3 separate regions of the Homo sapiens genome follow, and all the other regions are linked to region 1. Evidence: promoter capture Hi-C in 16 types of primary human blood cells and fetal thymus (Javierre and others, 2016). All regions are on one chromosome and are shown on one strand. The core of a region is centred on a gene start or on the middle of the fragment in contact, and the rest is flanking DNA. Distances in the headings are between cores, read along the strand shown.

Region 1 (3,423 bases), core at 366-2,865:
GGTCAATGTCTGAACTACCGGAAAGCAAACACTATGTTTTAGTTATTTGTGGATTCCTATCACCTAACATCTGGCACAAGAGCACTCAAGAACTTTCTCAAATGAAGTGATTAAGAATCACCATGACAATGGGCAGGGGAGGCAGTGAACTGTAATTATTCGGTTAGAGAACATTTAGGAAACATCAGGAATATTGAGATGAAATCGAGCTATATATTATGATATATCTATCCATCAATTCTAAGCACTAATAGCCCAAATGATTGCTGCTCTAATGCTCTGGCTCATCACGCCAATTTTTATTACAATCTTTACTTGGCTTCTTTCAGACTCTGGGTTATTACCTTCCGGCCGTAGGCCTTTACTAATTTGCATGACTTTTAAACTAATCATTAGACTTAAAAAGCAATTTTGCAATTTAAGTCCATGGCAATTAAATGACTTCCTACCTCAAGGCGCTAAATTACCCTGAAACACCTCATCAGACCTACCAGCCTATACAAGAGCAGGAAGTGTTGCAGTTGTGTTTTAGAACGTGCATGGCAGATTCACAAAATGTTAGGCATGAGAGTGGATTTCCTCGCACTGTGGGACTCCAAGTGCCCATAAAGGGCTTCATGCACCTTCTTAAACATGATGTCCAGCACTCTGGCCACCCCTTCCAAGGGTGTGTGTGTGCCTGTGTGTGTGTGTGTTTCAGTGGCTGCGGGGCCACACCTTGGGATCTCCTGAGTGGCAGGTGGCCTGTTAATGAGTCCTGACATCAGAGTCATTCCGGCATTTGTGTGTGTGTGTGTGTATGTGTGTGAGTGTGTCGGTGGCTGCGCGGCCACGCCTTGGGATCTCCTGAGTGGCAGGTGGCCTGTTAATGAGTCCTGACATCAGGGTCACCCCCGCATGCACAACAGTACAAGCCTCCCCGCGCAGCGGACTGTGCCGCGGACGCCTGCAAGCCGTGCACCCATCGCACACACTGAGGTCTCGGCGGTCATCCCTCGTGGGAGAGCTGGACAACCACGGCCGAAGGGAGGGCAGTCGAGGGGGGAATAGGCTGAGGGGCTGGGGGCGAGGTGGGTAGATCCTTCACAGGGCTTGGCGCTCCCTGTGTTTTGAGGGGCAGGACCCTGCACCAACCTCCACGAAGGCATCAGTCAGGTCACTAGCACGGTCCATCACTGGCAAATGGCGCCCGGCCACGATTTTCACCTTCAGCTTCCCTGGCATGGTCTCGGTTTCGGCCTCTTCTTGGGCTCCTGCAGAAACAAACAAACGAGTCTGCGCCGAGCGCGGGGCCGGCGGGAGAGGGGCGGAGGCGCGCGGGGTAACTGACAGCGAAGGAGCGCGCGGGGGCGCGCGCGGGCGCCCGGCAGTCGCGCCACGGGTCGCCACTCACTGTCGCAGGAGGAAGGGTGCTGTCCCGCGCGGGTGCTGAGACCTCATTCCGGAGAGGCGGCGGGAGGAAGGGCTTTGATGGGTTCTTCCGTCCCGGCCCCACAAGGCTGGGACGAAAAGCAAAACCCAGTCAGCATCCCGTTGAGCCTCTGCCGCCCCTGCTTGTCTCTCCTCCCCCGCTCTCAAAAATGGCGGCTCTCGGGGCGCGGAAGAAAGCATCGATCGTTCGGCGCTCTGCCCACTTGGCGGGGCGAAACTAAACTCGCCGAGGAAAGATAAGGGGGCGGGGCTGACGTTGAGAAAGCTGGAGGGCAGGGAAATGGGCCGAGTCCTGCATCATCCACCGAGTGGGGGCTGTGGATAGGTGCGGCGCTGCTTCCCTGGAGGGAAACGCTCCATCTTGCGGGCCGAAGCGCGAGTGCTGCTCTGTGACAGCCTCCGGCCGCGGCCTTCCCAGCTGCTACCGCCGCTTTTCGGATGGGCTGTGATAGATGGAGTAGCAGCGAAGACTGCTAGAAGAGCGTTTTCAGTCGGCCTTTAGTGATTCGTAAAACCAAATTAGCTGGTTTCTACTTGGAAGGGGTACAGGTGCGTGTGGTGGTTCCAGTTTTCTGTGAAATAGAGTTAGATGGCCAGGCACAGTGGCTCACGTCTGTAATCCCAGCACTTTGGGTGGCCGAGGCGGGCGGATCACCTGAGGTCAGGAGTTCAAGACCAGCCTGGACAACATGGCGAAACCCCGTCTCTACTAAAAATACAAAAATTAGCTGGGCGTCGTGGCGAGCGCCTCTAATTCCAGCTACTCAGGAGGCTGAGGCAGGAAAATCGCTTGAACCTGCGAGGCGGAGGTTGCAGTGAGCCGAGATCACTCCTCTGTCTCCAAAAAAAGAAAAAAAAGAAAGAAAGAAATAGAGATACCAGGCACATCTCGAATAGTGAAATAAATATTTAGTGAAATATTTTATTCAGTCATAGGCACTTGTGTTGTGCACTGGGTCACAGATATTACTGTGGGCGGGGTGGGGGAGGTCACCTTGAAATCCAAAGTCTCCTCTTGAAAAAAAGTTTCTGCTGGTAGGTGTGGTGGCTCAGATTTGTAATCCCAGCACTGTGGGAGGCTGAGGTGGGAGGATCGATTGAGTCCAGGAGTTCGAGACCAGCCTCATGGAGACGAGGCAACACAGTAAGACCCCTTCTTTACAAGAAATGCAAAAATTAGCTGGGCCGGTGGCTCGTCTGTGGTCTCAGCTACCTAGGAAGCTGAGGTGGGAGAATCTGGGAGAATTGCTTGAGCCCAGGAGTTTGAGGCTGCAGTGAGCTGCCATCTCACCACTGCACCCCAACCTGGGCAACAGAGCAAAACTCTGTCTCTTAAAAAAAATTTTTTTTTAATTAAATGTCCTGCACTCTTAGATCATCTCAGTGTTCTTATTAAGCATCCACAAGCCTAAAGATAAGACCTACAGTAGTAGCAGAAGTTCAGGACTTCCTACCATGGAAAGTATAGTCAACCACAAGAAATAAACATGGAGAGCGTTAAACATCTTGAAGAATTGACCCAACTATAAATAAAGTAAGGTGTTATCTACAGGCTCAGACCATATTAGGGAAATTGAGGCACACACAAGATGTAAATAAATCAGTCCTTACCAAATATCAAAATCAGCATTGACAGTATACCCAGTATCAACAAAATCAGAGTTCATGCCGGCTCAAAGATTGTAACATTTCATTCCTAAGTGAAGATATCCGTATGATCTTTTTAACTTCGAAAATACTCAATAGAGTAAATACTCCAAACAGTAGTGATCCCGAATTATCTTTTCATGACAAAAATTCCTTCTATGGCAGGAATATTGTTCACATAAGTGAGAAATTGAACTCCTACAGAGAAAACGACTTCCTCAAAATAAAAATCTAAAAAAATCGCTTGCTTTTTGGACTAGAGAAACTTTTATCAATTCAAACTATGTCAAAGGAATAGGGGTCATAGATCCCATGCGAATTTCCTTAGGTCCACCTGCAGCTTTT
Region 2 (3,180 bases), core at 119-2,618, 1.1 Mb before region 1:
GTTGGAAGAAATGTATAAAGGAGTTGAAATAGGGACAAGTATAAGGACGGCTGAGGATAATGAAAAGCTGAATGGAGTTATGCAATTTTTGTTTTTTTGACAATGTTTAGTAGCCAAGCAGCAGGAATGGGGAAAGCCAAAGTCTAGATGAATCCAGCATCTCAGGCACAACGCCTGAAGCAGACTGGCAGAATGGCCAGGCAGTCCAGGGCAAATATAACAGAAGTAAGGGGCAACAGCACAGTGTCTGGACGGGAAACAGAGTGATTGCTATGTAGGGACAGGAGCCTGGATAAATAAGCAGGGATTAAAAGAGGGATCCAGCAAATCCTAATGTGTGAAAAGCTTCAGAAGGAAAACAGGTTGAAGCCAGGGAGTCGGATTTTTGAATTTAAGATTTTTTTGCATATAACAATTCTGAGTAACTTACTTTAGGCTATGACTGTAGGATTAGGTGGTGGGGTGAAGAAAAAGGTCACTAAAAATATCTCATCAAAGTTTCATGCTGAGGAGTTGTATGTGGGTGCTGAAAAGACCCTCAGAATGATGACTAAAGATGACAACTTTGAAACAGATGCAAATTCTTCAACAAATGTGAAGGAATACCTAGATGTCATAAATGCCACAAAGATGTCCACTATTGGCTAGTAAACATATGTGTCCATATTTGTCCATAATTGACAAGGGCAATTAAACTACAGACTACAGTGGGGAATGAAACTAAACATTCTGCCTCTCAGTCCTCCTCATAATGAGGCAAGATAAAATAAGTAATACAGGTTGATCATCCCAAATCCAAAAAAATCCAAAATTTAAAACCCTTTTGGTTCCGAACATTCTGGATAACGGATATTCAATGTGTAACTACTTGAGGATGATTTTAATAGAAGCAGAGATTTCCATCATGCCAAGCTGAGTAAGGACACGGTCTATGACATCAAAAAGTTTTCTAGATAAAACATACATACCAGGTCTGAAATCATGTCCCCACTGACTACAGCAGTGAACTTCATCCACAGCAATTCGAGTAAATCTCCTTGCTTCATAGGCTTTCTCTAGTCTTGACATAAACATTTTGCTTTTTGCAATTTTCTCTGGAGTCACATAAATCAGCTTTAACTCGGAGTTTTTATTTACCATTTCAGCATGAACCCATTTAACATGCTCCTATTAAAAGAAAAAAATAGACACAATGATAGTAAAACTAAGCTAGCAGACTGAAATACTAGGTGGTAAATGAAAACGTTCATTTCTCCAAAGCAATAATAGCCTTTGGCTCTTCTAGGAGCAGATGTTTAGTTCATTAAAACTGAAACCATGTCTCAGTACGAAACATCATGGCAGCTGTGTAAATAGCATTCTAGTTATTTACTAACGTCTACATTGTTGATGACTAAAAAAAACTCACTTGACAAAAAAGAACACAAACAGATACTCCAATGAAGAGCATTTATTCTATGAAGGCATAATCCTAAATTGTTCATAATATATTCTAAAATGTGAGCTAGATGCAATTGTTATGGTTATAAAGGTGGGTTTTATTAATTTTAACATTATATTTATAATCCCTTTATGTATGTGAACAAAATTTATTATTTATTAACTTCTCAAATGATACCATCAAATCTTTTAATCTCTTTATTTAAATATAAAGACCATGGGGTTTCACAAAGTATCACTCATTAAATTAAGATAATAATAATAAATCTTAAAAGGTAACAGTTATTAGATTCTTAGTACTCATACAATTCTATACAATACTTAGCATATTAGATGTCATTTTTTTTCCTTCTAATCTAAAGAGGACCAAAAAAGTATAAAAACATGCCAGTGAATGAGATAGAAAGAGACAGTCAAACTACTTTCATCATCCCAGCAAAGAAGCAGTTTGTTAACTCCTAGATATATTCTAGGATACAGATGTTCTTTTTTTCTCTCTCCAACTTTCAAGAGTAGGGATATATCATGAACTTGTAATTATCTGCAACTTTCTAAATTACTTTCTATTACTATTATGTTCTTTTTCAATTTTAAGAAAGTACATTATTAGAAGGCAGTTTTCTCCACAGATTGATTTTGTTGGAGGAAGGAGCAGTTATAATAGAATGACATGGAGTTTAAATAAAACAAAAATATATGGGTAAACTAAAGGAACCAGGGCTTCTTAGAGGTATGGCTGACTCTAGGTCTGGGCAGGAAATGCATAAAATGAACATGGATTATCTTACTGCAAAAGAAAGCAAGGAACAGAAGCAATGGGGTTAAGAGAAAGGATTCAGGAACCAACTTAAAGAGGCTCTCACTGCCCAAGGACAGGACTATTTCAGCATTACATATATACATATTGATATATATATATATATGATTCCAAAGGTGAATCATATTATACGTCAAAGCTTGTAAGTTTATAGTGATACTTGGGGAAAGAAAACCTTAAAAATCTTGTTGACCACCTTTGGAGAATGCTAGAAAACCAACTCTTTCTGAAAACTCATAAAGAAAGGGAAAAAAAAATCAAGCATTTTCATCATGCAGAGTTAATGAGGAAAAAGTTTATTTTTGTAGAAAAAGTATAACTAATACATGAAGAAAGAGTGACAGAATTAGATATCACCATTTTGCACCTCCCTAATGAAATCATGGCTCTCACGGTGCCACTCAGTGGCTGCTAAAACCATTAGATGAAAAACTGATAACCAGAGATCAGGCAGACATCACTTGAACCCACTGACGCTTAGCATCACAAAAAGATAACCAGGTACTATGTACCACTTGAGTGATACCACAGTAAGTATACTCTTGCAAAAAAAAAAAAAAAAGTTAAAGAAAAATTCCAAATACAATCAGGCTTTTAGATCTAACTAAAAGGATCCAGTTACCTATGTAACAAACCTGCACATCCTGCATATGGACCCCAGAACTGAAAAAAAAAAAAAGAAAAAGAAAGAAAAGAAAAGAAAGAGAGAAAGAAAGAACACCACAAGGACGCAATCAGGAAAATGTAGAAAGATACAGGACAGTTAACCCAGTTTCTTCAACAAAGAATTTGCATGGGAAATATAAAAGATATAAAGAGAACCTATGGGTATATCAACCAAATACAATACAATGCATGAATATTATCTGGGCTATATTTTTTTTTAAAAAAAACATAAAAATGAGATAGAAATCTGAATTTTT
Region 3 (3,345 bases), core at 529-3,028, 1.1 Mb before region 1:
TATAACATACTGCAGTCTATTAAATGTGCATTAGCATTGTGTCTAAAAATACAATGCACATAACGTTAATTTAAAGATACTTTATTGCTTAATATGCTAACAATCATCTGAGCCTTCAGCAAATCATAATCTTTTTTTGGTGGAAAGTTTTGCCTCGGTATTGGTGGCTGATGACTCATCAGGGTGGTGCTTGCTGAAGGTTTGGGTGGCTGTGGCAATTTCTTAAAATAACAAGTTTGCCCCATCAATTGACTCTTCCTCTCGTGAAAGACTTCTCTGTAGCGTGCGAAGCTGTTTTATAGCATTTTGCCCAGAGTAGAAGTTCTTTCAAAAGTCAATTCTCTCAAACTCTGCTACTGCTTTACCAAGTATATGTAATATTTTAAATCCTTCATCATTTCAGCAATACTCACAGCATCCTCACCAGAAGTAAACTCCATCTCAGATAACTACGTTCTTTGCTCATCCATGAGAAACAACAACTCATCTTTTCAAATTTTATCATGAGATTGCAGCAATGTAGTCTCATCTTCAGGATTCATTTCTAATTACAGTTCTTTTGTTATTTCCACCATATCTGCCTTTCTCCATTGAAATCTTGAATCCCTCAAAGTCATCCATGAAGGTTGGAGTAAACTTCTTTCAAGCTTTTGTTAATGTTGATATTTTGACTTACTCCCTTGAATCATGAATGTTCTTAATAACATCTAGAATGGTGAATTCTTTCCAGAAGGTTTTCAATGTACTTTTCCCAGATCCATCAGATGCATCACTATCTGTGGCAGCTATAGCCTTATGAAATGCATTTCTTTAATAAGACTTGAAAGTAAGAATTACTCCTGGATCCATGGGCTGCAGAATGGATATTGTATTAGCAGGCATGAAAACAACATTCATCTCCTTGTGCATCTCTGTCTGAGTTCTTGGGTGACCAAATGCCTTGTCAATGAGTGTAGTATTTTGAAATGAATCTTTTTTTTTTTTTTTCTGAGCAGTAGGTCTCAATGGTGGGCTTCAAATATTCAGTAAACTATGTAAACAGATGTGCTGTGTATTACTCCATTCTCACAGTATATAAAGAAATACCTGAGAGTAGGTAATATTTATAAAGAAAAGAGGTTTAATTGGCTCATGGTCCCACGGGCTGTACAGGAAGCATGACTGGGGAGGCCTCAGGAAACTTTCAATCACGGGGGAAGGGGAATTATGCACTTCTTACATGGCCAGAGCAAGAGGAAGAGAGAGAAGGGGGCTGGTGCCACACACCTTTAAACAACCAGATCTCATGAGAACTCTAACATGAAAACAGCACTAAGGATGGTGCTAAACTATTAGAAACTGTCCCCATGATCCAGTCACCTCCCACCAGGCCGTACCTCCAACATTGGGGATTACAATTTGATATGAGATTTGGGTGGAGAACCAGGCCCAAACCATATAATGCTGTCATCCAGGCTTTGTTGTTCCATTTACAGAGGACAGGCAGGGTAGATGTAGTATAGTTCTTAAGGGCCCTAGAACTTTCACAGTGGTAAATAGGCATTGGCTTCAACTTCAAGTCACCAGTTACATTATCCCCTAACAGGAGAGTCTGCCTGTCCTTTGAAGCCAGGCATTGACTTCTCCTCTATAGTTGTGAAGGTCCTAGATAGCATCTTTTTCCACTGGAAGGCTGTTTCATGTACACTGAAAATCTACTGTTTAGTGTAGCCACATTCATCAGTTATCAATTGTATATTTTTGTTGTAGAGATGGCTTCTTTACTTAAACATCATGAACCAACCTCTACTAGCTTCAGCCTTTTCTTCTGCAGCTTCCTCACTTCTCTCAGCCTTTACAGAATTGAAAACAGTTAGGGGCTTACTCTGGGTTAGGCTTTGGCCTAAGGGAATGTTGTGGCTGATTTGATCTTCTCTCCACACCACTAAAACTTTCTCCATGTCAGCAAGAAGACTGTTTCGCTTTCTCATCATTCATGTGTTCATTGGAATACCACTTTAGATTTACTTCAAGAATGTTTCCTTTGCATTCACAATTTGGCCATCTGTTCAGGGCAAGAGGCCTGGCTTTCCATGTGCCTTCCTCAATAACCCTAATAATCATTGCTACCTTTTGATTTAAAGTGAGAGATGTGTGATCCTTACTTTCACTTGAACACTTAGAGGCCACTACAGAGTAACTGATTGCCCTGGTTTCAATATTCTTGTGTCTCCGGGAATAAGGAGGCCCAAGGAGAGGGAGAGACATAGGACAACAGCTGGTTGATGGAGCAGTCAGAACACAGAACATTTATCGATTAAGTTCACTGTGTTAGATGGGTGTGGTTCATGACACCCCAAGACAATTACAGTAGTACATCAAAGATTACTAATCACAGATCACCATAAAAGATCTAATAATGATGAAAACTGAAATATTGCAAGAATTACCAAAATGTGACAGAGACACAAAGTGAGCACATGCTATTGGAAAAATGGCACTGATAAGACTTGCTTGATGTGGGTTTGTCACAAACCTTCAATTTGTAAAAAACACACTATCTGCAAAACAGTAGTGAAGCACAATAAAATGTTGTGTCTGCAGTTTTCTGGCACACAACTCCTAAAATTTTTGGCATCTCCAAAGTGATGTGTCCTTTTGTATGCTAACGAGTTGACTGGTTAGCCCCTAGGTGGCTTCAGAATGGGGACTGGTCACAGGAAAGACCAAGACATGATTAGAGTTTAGACTTTCCAACCTACAGGAAGGGAAAGAGGTTGAAGGTTAAGCCAATCACTAGCAGCCAGTAATTTAATCAGTCACCTACATAACACAGTTTCCATGAAAACCCAAAAGGACTGGGTTTGGAGAGCTTCTGGATAGCTGAACATGTGGAAGTTGCTAGAGGGTGGTCTATCTGGAGAGGGCATAGAAGCTTCATGCCCCTTCTTATATGCTTTGCCTTATGTATTTCTTCATCTGTTTCTTCGTGACATCCTTGATAATAAACCAGTAAATGTAAGTAAAGTGTTTCCCCAAATTCTGTGAGATATTCTAATAAATTAATTGAACCTAAGAAAGGGGCTCGTGGGAGCCCCTTGATTTATGGTTGGTTAGTCAGACCAACTGGTAAAACACCCGGGGCATGCAATTGGTATTGGAAGTGGAAGACAGTCTTGTGAGATTGATCCCTCAACATGTGGGACCTGATGCTATCTCCAGGTAGATAATAACATCAGAACTGAATTGAATTAGAGGACAGCCAGATGGTGTCCTGTGCAGAATTAATTGCTTGCTTAGTGTGTAGAAAACACCCCACACACATTTGGTCACAGAAGTATTCTGTGTTGTGAGACTATAGTAGGA

What was found. The method cuts DNA at HindIII sites, captures the fragments that hold promoters and counts their contacts. A CHiCAGO score of 5 or more calls a contact.
Region 2: a fragment that was not itself captured here is called in contact with the fragment with the promoter of C2CD5 in region 1 in 1 of 17 cell types (total B cells); the score reaches 6.2 in total B cells.
Region 3: a fragment that was not itself captured here is called in contact with the fragment with the promoter of C2CD5 in region 1 in 1 of 17 cell types (non-activated CD4 T cells); the score reaches 7.3 in non-activated CD4 T cells.

The regions. Positions count from the first base shown.
Region 1 is chr12:22,542,927-22,546,349 of GRCh38, forward strand. It overlaps C2CD5 (C2 calcium dependent domain containing 5), which reads right to left and starts at 1,616. Exons shown (of 27, transcript NM_001286176.2): 1 at 1,394-1,616; 2 at 1,135-1,253. The coding sequence starts at 1,224. RefSeq lists enhancers at 1-376, 1,517-1,746 and a silencer at 1,257-1,376. The HindIII fragment of the contact is 7,848 bases long and covers 1-3,423 here.
Region 2 is chr12:21,482,408-21,485,587 of GRCh38, forward strand. It overlaps RECQL (RecQ like helicase), which reads right to left. Exons shown (of 15, transcript NM_002907.4): 6 at 969-1,167. Among named protein-coding and RNA genes, the nearest start is that of RECQL, 18 kb to the right of the region's middle. The HindIII fragment of the contact is 2,051 bases long and covers 344-2,394 here.
Region 3 is chr12:21,456,462-21,459,806 of GRCh38, forward strand. All of the region lies in intron 7 of PYROXD1 (pyridine nucleotide-disulphide oxidoreductase domain 1), which reads left to right. Among named protein-coding and RNA genes, the nearest start is that of PYROXD1, 20 kb to the left of the region's middle. The HindIII fragment of the contact is 2,267 bases long and covers 646-2,912 here.